Linked DNA regions of Homo sapiens: region 2 is linked to region 1. The links are contacts of gene promoters, found by promoter capture Hi-C in human tissues and cell types (Jung and others, 2019). All regions are on one chromosome and are shown on one strand. The core of a region is centred on a gene start or on the middle of the fragment in contact, and the rest is flanking DNA. Distances in the headings are between cores, read along the strand shown. Region 1 holds the start of NEDD4L (NEDD4 like E3 ubiquitin protein ligase). Region 2 overlaps WDR7 (WD repeat domain 7).

Region 1 (5,014 bases), core at 1,774-4,273:
GTGGGAGGCAGAGAGGAGCAGTAGTAAAAATTCCCAAATGTTTCTATGTATAGCAAAATTTGGAAACTAAGCTGATGTTCTCAGCCTTAAATGCACATTAGCATCACCTGGGAGGCTGTTGAAACTACTGATGTCAGAATCCATTAAATCATAGCCTCTGATGCTGGTTACCGGGCACTTAGTCTATTTGAAAGCTCCCCAGGTGATTGCAATGTACATGCTGAGTAGAGAACCACAGCACTGGGGGAAAGTTGGTATATAGTTACAAAAGGGATTTTTTTTAATGGGTTCTTTTATGGCTTAAGACCATGAAACTGGTTCTGAGCTTCCTGGTGGCCAAAGTAGATAGAAAAACACAGTCGGTTTTAATAATTTTGGTCATCTGCCATGCAAAAGCTTACCAGTTTCTTGAAAGCAAAAGAGCTTTTCTTCATAGATCTGAAATAAATGTCTAGTTTATTAGTCTTCTCACAGAGGATGTTGATGTCATGGATCACGATTTTATAAACACCCCACAATAAGTGACATATGGCAAGTTTCATATTATAGTTCCTAATAACCATCCCTCAGGGAAAGACAAGGACATGACCCTGAGTGCAGGGCTATAGGCTGTTGCGGTGGGTGTGTGGGAGTAGATGATAAAAGACAGGAAGAGAAACTGCCACACCCCTCTACAGTTTCCAGATAACATAGCCTTACCCAAAGGCGAAGCCTGGAATTGTGTACCTCCAGGATGTGGAAGGCGTGTCCTGTGTAATTAGAAATTATAATTTTCTATCAGCACATTTTAAGAATTATTTATTTATGTATTTATTTATTTAGAGACACAGGGTCTTTCTCTGTCATCCAGGCTGGAGTGCAATGGCACGATCATAGCTCACTGTAACCTTGAACTTCTGGGCTCAAGTGAACCTCTAGTCTTAGCCTCCTGAGTAGCTAGGACTATGGGCCCATGCCACCACACCTGGCAAATTTTTAATTTTTTTTTTTTTTTGTAGGGACAGGGGTCTCTCTATATTGCCCAGGCTGGTCTCGAACTCCTGGCCTCAAATGATCCTCCTGCCTCTGCCTCCCAAAATGCTAGCATTATTATTCAATTACTTTTCTTCCTTTATAATATAAACTGTACAAATTTTACAAAGGTTTGGCTAGTGAGGGTAGGTAGAGAAGCACTGACTCCCATCCATGAGGGTCACAGGCTAGGGCAAGGGCATCTGAGAATGCGTGTGTGTGTGTGTGTGTGTGTGTGAGAGAGAGAGAGAGAAAGACAGAGTGTGCACGTGTACCTTTTGTTTATCAAAAGACTTTAGGGTTGTTTTTTTTTGTTTTTGTTTTTTTTGAGACGGAGTCTCGCTCTGTGGTCCAGGCTGGAGTGCAGTGGCGCAGTCTCGGCTCACTGCAACCTCCGCCTCCCAGGTTCAAGGGATCCTCATGCCTCAGCCTCCCCGAGTAGCTGGGATTACAGGCGCCCGCCACCACGCCTGGGTAATTTTTGTATTTTTAGTAGAGATGGAGTTTCACCACATTGGCCAGCTGGTCTTGAACTACCGATCTTATGATCCGCCCGCCTCAGCCTCCCAAAGTGCTGGGATTACAGGTTTGAGCCACCGTGCCCGGTCTAAAGACTCGAGGTTTGAAAGGGTTGAAAAACCTCAGTATTGAAAGAATGGACAGAAATCTGACTTTTAAATAGTCCTCCATAAATAGTTCTCATTGGGGGTTTTGTGGCCTGTAAGTACTGTGGACTTGACGGCTCAAGACTTCTAGAGAAGGCTTCTGAGTAGGATGTTGACTCCATGGGGCTAAGTCGTCAAAGGAAACCCATTCTACGGCACAGGTTTTAAGCCAGTCATGCTGCAGGAAGGCAAAGGAGAGCTTAAGGTAGCATGGGTGGGCTCTTTTGAAAACGAACTAGCAGGGCGAACAGCAGATATTTAGTTATGTAGCTGGCAACGAGGAATATGATTCCTTCGGGTCACGCGAGTTCTCTCTGAACTTCCTTGAATGAAAATCCTAAATGCATCCTGGTAATACCCAAGTAGGCACTTTGACGTTTCCTTTTCAAAGGCAAATGGAATGTTCTGCGTCTGTTTTCTTTTTGAACTCCCAACTGCACTTAACATCTAAATTTAAGGAAAGGCTTCCGAAAAAGTCGACTGACGAATTTCTTTCACTTATTTAAAGTAGTCTCTTGCAGTCCTATAAATCGGAAGGATTAAATGAACTGCTTGCTAGAGAAACGGTAGCTGGGTGGTGGGAAGAATCCTACGGTGGCTAATAAGACGTCTCGATCATTTGCATATGCAAAGGATAACCTTAAGCTTGAGTTTGATATTTCACGTTGCGGCTCACAAATGAACTGCTTTTTATTCAAAGAACCATGCTGTCTGTTTTCGCGTGGGTGGGTGTGTAACCGGGGCGGGCGCTATGTTGGTTTTGTTCCCTGCAAGGTTGACACAGGCAATGGCGACTTGCGGCCACACTGGGGCAGCCTCTCCTCGGCTGGCAGCCGGGCCGGGCGGCTCGCTCCCGGGAGCTGACAATGTAGCCAAGTCCTGCTCGTCGGGGCCGCAAAGAATTTAAAGGGGTCTAGAAACATCCATCTTTTCCCCTTTTCACAGTTAACAGCGAGCTCAGGGCTCTCGGTAAAAAGACCACCGGGAGGAAGAAACGCTCAGGGCGTTTTTGTTATTGTTCGCAAAATCCTCTATCGCCCCCAAACGTCCAGCCCGCCCCCTCCCTAAAGCGGAGGGAAACCGGGAGAGGAGGGAGGGTCGGCGGCGCCGGCCAAGCGCGCCAGTACACGCCCCTGCGGATCCGCCCCGCGGCCGGGTGACCCCCGCCGCGCCGCGCTGGAGGCCCCGGGCCGGGGTGGGCGTGGGGCTGAACTCCGCCACCCCCGCAGCCCGCGGCCCGCTCGCCAGCCCGGCCTGTGATTGGCTTGGGGGGCGCGTGTGCCCGCCCCGGCGAACGGGGAGGGTACCCTCGCGGCGCCGGTGGGAGGAGGCGGAGGAGGGGGCGGAGAGAGCGGGGGCCCGGACGGCGCTAGCGAGGAGGCGGGCGAGCCGGGTCCCCGGGAGCGCAGAGGAGGCTCGGAGGGGGGCGGAGAGCGGCGGGGCGGGAGGGAGGCGCGGGTCGCGGGGAGGGAAAGCCCGGCCGGGTCTGCGCCGCCGCCGCGCGCAGTGAGAGGCGCCGGGGCTGCCGCCCGGTGCTCGGCGCGCTCTCGGGAGCCGCCCGCCCGCTGGTCCCGCAGCCTTCCGGGAGGAAGCGGTGCCGGCAGCGTCCAGGGCGCGCTCTCGGGCACCCTCACCTGCCGGCGCCCGGCCGCTTACCCGGCAGGGCGTGCGCAGGGTAGGGTGCGGGACCGGGGGGACCTGGAGGCAGAGGGGAGAACCGGCCGTCCGCGCCGCAGCACAGCCGCTGGGAGCGCCTCAGACCCCGCGCGGGGCGCCGGCTCCATGGCGACCGGGCTCGGGGAGCCGGTCTATGGACTTTCCGAAGACGAGGTGAGTGGCACCCCCTTCCTGCTCGGGACTCCCCGGGGAGTTCCTATCCCGCGCCGGCAGGGGGAGGGGAAAGGGGCCGTCCCCGGGGTGCTCGTGCCCAGCGTCTGCAGGGGAGCCCCAAAGCGGGAGCGCCCCGGAGCGGGATCCAGGGGAGCTTGGGTCCTTCCGCACCCCCCACCCTCCGCAAGCCGAGCTCATTGTTTGTAAATAAAGCGGCGCGACGCCCTTGGAGCTGGGGGTTCACTCCGCAGCTCCTCGCTTTCGGGAGGAGAGGGAGGGGGCATGCGTGCCTCTCTTCCCTCTTCCTCTCCAAGCAGCGTCTCCCGGGGCTGTTGGGCAACTTTCCGCCTCTCGCCCCTGCAGCCCGGGAGTCCATGATGCATGTCACGTCTGGGTCGCGCGGCTGGAGACCCGGGACTGCGGAGAAGCCGGATCGTTTCCCCCTGGAACTTTCTCTCTCATGATTGTGTGGATCAGCAGGCGCTCAGAAGCCTGTGCGTGCTTATCCCGGCGGGAATGGGGGACACGCTGCGTGTGTCCCTCCCCTCGTTTTGCAAAGTCTACGGCCAGGATTGTGGATTTCGGAGCCTCGGTGGGGGAGGTGTTCAAGGCTGGTGGCAGGTGCTCCTGGAAACTTGGGGAGGAAGCTTGCAGCCCTGCCATTTTTTCCTCCCGAGGATTCAAAGCCCGGCACCTCCAGGGTGGGTGGGGAGAGGAAAGCTTAATTGATCTCTTTTATTAATAAAGCGACTGAATAAGCCACGCCTCCCAGGCGGTCGGTTTCACTGGAAAGGGCTTTGTTTTTACCTTCATTCTCTCTTCCGTGTCTCCCACTCCCCCCTTTTGAAACAATCCTGCTAAATCACTGCCTAGTCCTCTCTCGACCAGCCACGCTCGGCTCTTATTGGTATGTTGCTCTGCCAAAAAGGGGGGTGGGACGCTTGTCGCGGGCGCGGCGTGACAGGCAGGCTGGATGGAGCAGGTAGGAGTGGTTTGCCATCTGGCGGGGTGCGCGCTCAGGTCTGGCTCCCCTTTCGAGAGGTGAATTTTACAACCCAAGAAGCATTACTCAGCAGGGAGGTATTTCCTATCCTGGTTGTGCATTTCATGAAAAGTTGATGCCTGGAAATTCAGGCGTTCTCGATTTCTCTTTCTTCCCCTCCCTCCTTTCTTTTCAGAGGTTCCCTCTTTCTCTCGTGTTGGGGGTGGGGTTGGAAGAAAGGCTATTATCTGAGACAGGCTCGCGTTATGGCTCCGCTTTCTGCGGCTCTCCTACCCTGGCATGGTGTGTGTGTGTGCCTGTGTGCTACGTAAGTGTGGAATGAAAGGTATTTTGGGGTGGGAAGGGTGTTTAGGGTATGAATTTTTTTCTTAGCGGTGCTAGGCAAAGCTTGATGTATTTATTTGATCAAAGAATGATCACAGTGCAAATAATGTGTGATTTGTGTGTTTATTTTGCCTCGCTGTGCTTTTGTAAAATAATTTCCCGTTTTGTGTAACTACCTGGG
Region 2 (4,598 bases), core at 1,221-3,720, 1.3 Mb before region 1:
GAAAATGATGAGGTTGAGGAAGTGGAAAAATGACCAGGATGATTTATCTTTTACCTTACATTTCTCTCATGTTGTCTAATTAGTCAAAAGTCTGAAAAAAAATGAATGTGCTATATTTGCAAAGGTCAGTAGCTTTGTATTCTGTGTAACGAGGCAAGAGAATGGAATTTAGAAGTCAAATATAACCTACTAAGAACATAGTCTGTGTTCTTTGCTTGCAAAATTCACTCTAAAAAAATTTGTACTGATTGAATAGACTTTATGATTCACTGTGAAAAGGGCACTGTAAGGTACAGACAGGGACAAGCCAAATGACATTGTGTACGGGATACCAGGCCTTGTTTAGTGAACTGTTTTTGTCCTTAGAAGAATTCTTATGATATGTATGACCTTTGAAGAATCAATTAAATTTGTTTAACATTCTGTCCCAAAACTTTAATGAATATTTTAATAGAAAATATGAGTATGTTGATAATATATTATTATATATTCATAAGTATGTAAGTTTTGTTTGTCCTCTGTGGTTATTGGGACAAAATTTTAAATTACGCCAATTGTTGTCTAGTCCCTAATAAATAAAGGAGCCTTAGCTAAGCTGTCCAGTCTTAAGAAAACAAAGGAGTAAATGCCTGTGACTGTAAGAGGGGAAATACATTTTCTCAGTCAAATAAAGGAAACGTTTGTCCCCTTCCATTCTGGAGAGATACTAGAAGTAATATTAGTCCAGTAATAAAATAATCATGATCTTCTAACATGCTTCTTATTAGCTTTGGTGATTATATGATATAGAGATATTTAAAACTTGGCCAGGCACGGTGGCTCATGCCTGTAATCCTAGCACATTGGGAGGCCGAGGTAGGCGGATCGTTTGAATCAGGAGTTGGAGACCAGCCTGGGCAATGGTGAAACCCTGCCTCTACAAAAATTAGCCAGGCTTAGTGGCACACACCTGTGGTCCCAGCTGCTCTAGGGGCTGGGGTGGGAGGATTGCTTGAGCCCAGGAGGTTGAGGCTGCATTGAGCTGAGATCATGCCACAGGACTATAGCCTGGGTGACAGAGCGAGACCCTGTCTCAAACAAAAACAAACAAACAAATTATTTTCAGTCTCTCACATGATAACAGAGATGATACTCTGAAAGAATAATGTTTGGGTATCATAATAGTTACACTCATAATTTTGATTGCTTTCTGAATCCTGGCACTTATAAGCTAAGAATAGCAATCAGGAAATTTCGCCTCCATGATTTGGCATATTAAAATATGGACTTTGTGGATTCTCTGAAATGTCCAGATCATTTAGATAGCATAAAATCCTTTTTTTTTTTTTTTTTTTTTTTTTGCAAAATGTGTTGTTTAACTTTTTGAATAGGAAACATTATGATTCCTATCTTTTAATTAAGATGTATTGAATGTTAACTCTTTTTTGGTAACTCAGTGCAAACATTGGTTATAATAATGCGTTCTAGATTTATCTGTTGATAAAATATTATCCACATTTACTTCCTTTCCAAGTTTCCTAGACTGCTGGATTTTTTTTTTCTAAATTGCTTCTTTATAAACCTTTTATCTCTTTGCTCTTCTCTTGACTATTATGGCCACTGCTAATCCCTGCTACTCTATCTCTGTTTTTCTCTGAAAACTGATATAGTAGTGTTTAGATCTACCATCTTAACGTTTGAGTTCCATTTCACTGTTTTTATGTTTATTTCTATTTTTTCTTGGCCTCTTTCAGATTCAGCAAATATATTTAAATTTTACTTTCCCCTTCTTATACTTGTTAGCTATAGATTCTGTTAGTATTCTTTTAGTTTTTGCCCTAGAGATTGTAAGTACATCTTTGACTTATTACAGTCTAAAACAAATTATTCCTATTAGAATTTCTCTGCTGGTGCTAGAGCCTTAGAACACTACAACTCCATTTGCCCCCCCTTCTTTTTACATTTTAGTTGCCATGCATTGTAACTTTACATATACTTTAAATTCCACTAGACATTATTATTGTTTTGTTCAGTCAATATTATTTAATATTCTTATATTTAAACTCTGTTCTTTTTGTACTTTACATTTTTATGTTTTCATCTAAGATCATTTTCTTCCTCGAAAGAACTACTCATTTCTTTTAGTACAAGTTTATTGGCATTGAATTTTCTCAGTTTTTGATTGTCTGAAAATGTTCTCTGTTTTTGAAGGATATGTTTGCTGATTATAGATTTTTAGGTTGGTGGTCTTTTGCACTGTAAAGATTTCATTATCTTCTCATTTCCATCTTTTTTTGGGGGGGGGAATAAGCTATCATTCTTATTGTTATTCCTTTGGATCCCCCCATTGCTATTAAGGTTTTCTATTTTTCCCTTGTTTTTTAGCAGTTTAAATATGACATACCTAGATGTGATTTTTTTTTTTTTTTGTATTTATACTGCTTGGAGTTGCCAGAGCTTTTTGAATCTGTAGGTTTGTGTCTTTCACTAGTGCAGGAAAATTCTTGAGGCCATTATCTTTTCAGATGCTATTTTCTTACCTCTCTTTCAGAAACTCCAATAACATGTAAATTAGACTGCCTCCTTTGCCCGTTTTTAAAAAATTGTTTTTCGTAGGTTTCATGTTCTTCTCTCTATTTTGTAATCTTTGTCTCCCTCTGTGTTTCAATGTATATATTTTCTGTGTTCCATAGTACTGTTTTCTGCTGTTTTTCCACAAACTCCTTTACTGAGTTATACTTTTAATTATTATTACTGTCTTTATTTCTAGGCTACCTACTTGATCCTTTTTTAAAAATTGATTTCAGTTATCTGCTGAAATTCTTTATCTTTTTATCTTCTTTTCCATCATTTTCTATATTTTCTTGAACATATTAATCCTAATTTTCTTAAAATCTTTATCTGCCAACTCTAATATCTGTATCACTGGTGACTCTCTTTTAATTGCCTCTAATTTCAGTTATATGCTGTAATCTCTTGGCATGTGTAGTAATTTTTTGTTAAATACCAGACATTGTAGGTAAAAAAAGTAGCTTGTTCAAATGATATCCTCTTCTAGAGGGGGCTCACCCTTTCTCTGCTGTTCAGATAGAATAAAGGCTGACCAACTTAATATAATCAGGGACTAACCTGAGTCAAGGCTAGGTTGCAGTATTTTAAATCTCTGCCTATCTGTGATTCTGCTTCTACTTCTCTAGTCCTTCCAGGGCTTCCAACAGAGAGCCCAGAATATTTAACGGGGTTCTTTTGCTTGTTGAGTCCTGAATCCTACTTCTTATCTTCTTAGCATGAGAACCCTGCCAAAAACTCCATTTTGCTTTCTAGAGACATTCTTAGTCTCCCCACACAGCTTCAGTATTTGGCATTTAACATGAATGGCCCTGTGTCAGCTTCTGTTTTCTTTCCCTCCCTTCTCTCTAGGATCTTGGTCCCTTGAATATTCAATTTTCTCTTTAGCCCCACAAGACTTTCAAAAGCTCTGTTGCTTTCTGTATTCCCAGTGATGGTCCTACTGCTTGCTTGATCTCTGCTTTATCCAAGGTACTTTAAAGCCAACATGTCTAAGATTGAACTCAAAATCATGTCCCATAGAACATTCCATTTCTCATTATTTTCTACTACCTAGTGGTGCAAACTGTGGCCTACAGGTCAATAGGGCCCTTGAGCTATGAATGCTTTTTATATTTTAAAAATATTATTAAGAATATGTGACATAAAGCTTTGTGGCCCTCAAAGTTTAAAGTATTTGCTATGTGGCTCTTTACAGAAAAAGTTTGCCAATACTTTTTCTGTCCTAGTAACTGTCATCACTGTTTGTCCCATTATCTATATTACAAATCCTAAATGTTATCGAATCATCTTCTCTTGAAAACCAATCCAAAATAATCTTTTGTCATTTTTATCTCCTTCTGAAAGCAGTCTTCTCTCTGCCTCTGCCACTCTTCTAGTTTATGATCTTTCCCCCAGATAATACCTTATGATTGATCTTTTTGTATTTAATCGGCCCTTCCTGCTCCTACAAATCTGACATCTGCTCCAAGTTCTCCATTAAAATAAAAGTCCACTGTCATAGGACTCACACACGTAGAAAATTACACTATATGTGGGTTGTGAGTGCATGTGCTCCTTTATGTATAAATGTATGTGTGCATCATGTGTGTATATTTCAGAGAGTTTGGGATGGATACTTTGAAAATTTCCAACTCAGGGTACCTTTCCACCAACTCTTCTCCAGTTTGAAGGAAATGAGTTTTAGGTTACTATGAATGCAATCTCAACCATTACATTACGGAACAAAACTAAATTCTCAAAACTAACTAAATATTTAATTCATATTTGCTAAGTTTCTGGTGATTACAGGATTTTTGGCTCTTTTCCCTTTTTAAGGATCCTTGAATTAGACATGACTGGATTTATTGTGATGATTGCATAATACCATCAAATAATGACATATACAACAGAACAACTCTTCCTGAAGCCTAATAAATCCTGTGGTTCTAGTGCCTTATTGACCCTGTGTGTTACATATAATAGGTGTTCAATGGATTTATGAATGGGATTCAGAGTTCATACTAAATATAATTCATCATATTCTGAGCCAAGGGGAAGCAGTCTTGTTC

Evidence for each region. Contacts are between HindIII fragments. The study calls those that stand out against the background at their distance.
Region 2: a fragment that was not itself captured here is called in contact with the fragment with the promoter of NEDD4L in region 1 in 1 of the 25 tissues and cell types used here (mesenchymal stem cells).

Annotation. Positions count from the first base shown.
Region 1 is chr18:58,041,203-58,046,216 of GRCh38, forward strand. It overlaps NEDD4L (NEDD4 like E3 ubiquitin protein ligase), which reads left to right and starts at 3,024. Exons shown (of 31, transcript NM_001144967.3): 1 at 3,024-3,506. The coding sequence starts at 3,459. RefSeq lists a cis regulatory region at 417-829 and silencers at 2,719-3,088, 3,109-3,658. The HindIII fragment of the contact is 3,203 bases long and covers 1,359-4,561 here.
Region 2 is chr18:56,737,484-56,742,081 of GRCh38, forward strand. All of the region lies in intron 14 of WDR7 (WD repeat domain 7), which reads left to right. Among named protein-coding and RNA genes, the nearest start is that of WDR7, 88 kb to the left of the region's middle. The HindIII fragment of the contact is 4,184 bases long and covers 379-4,562 here.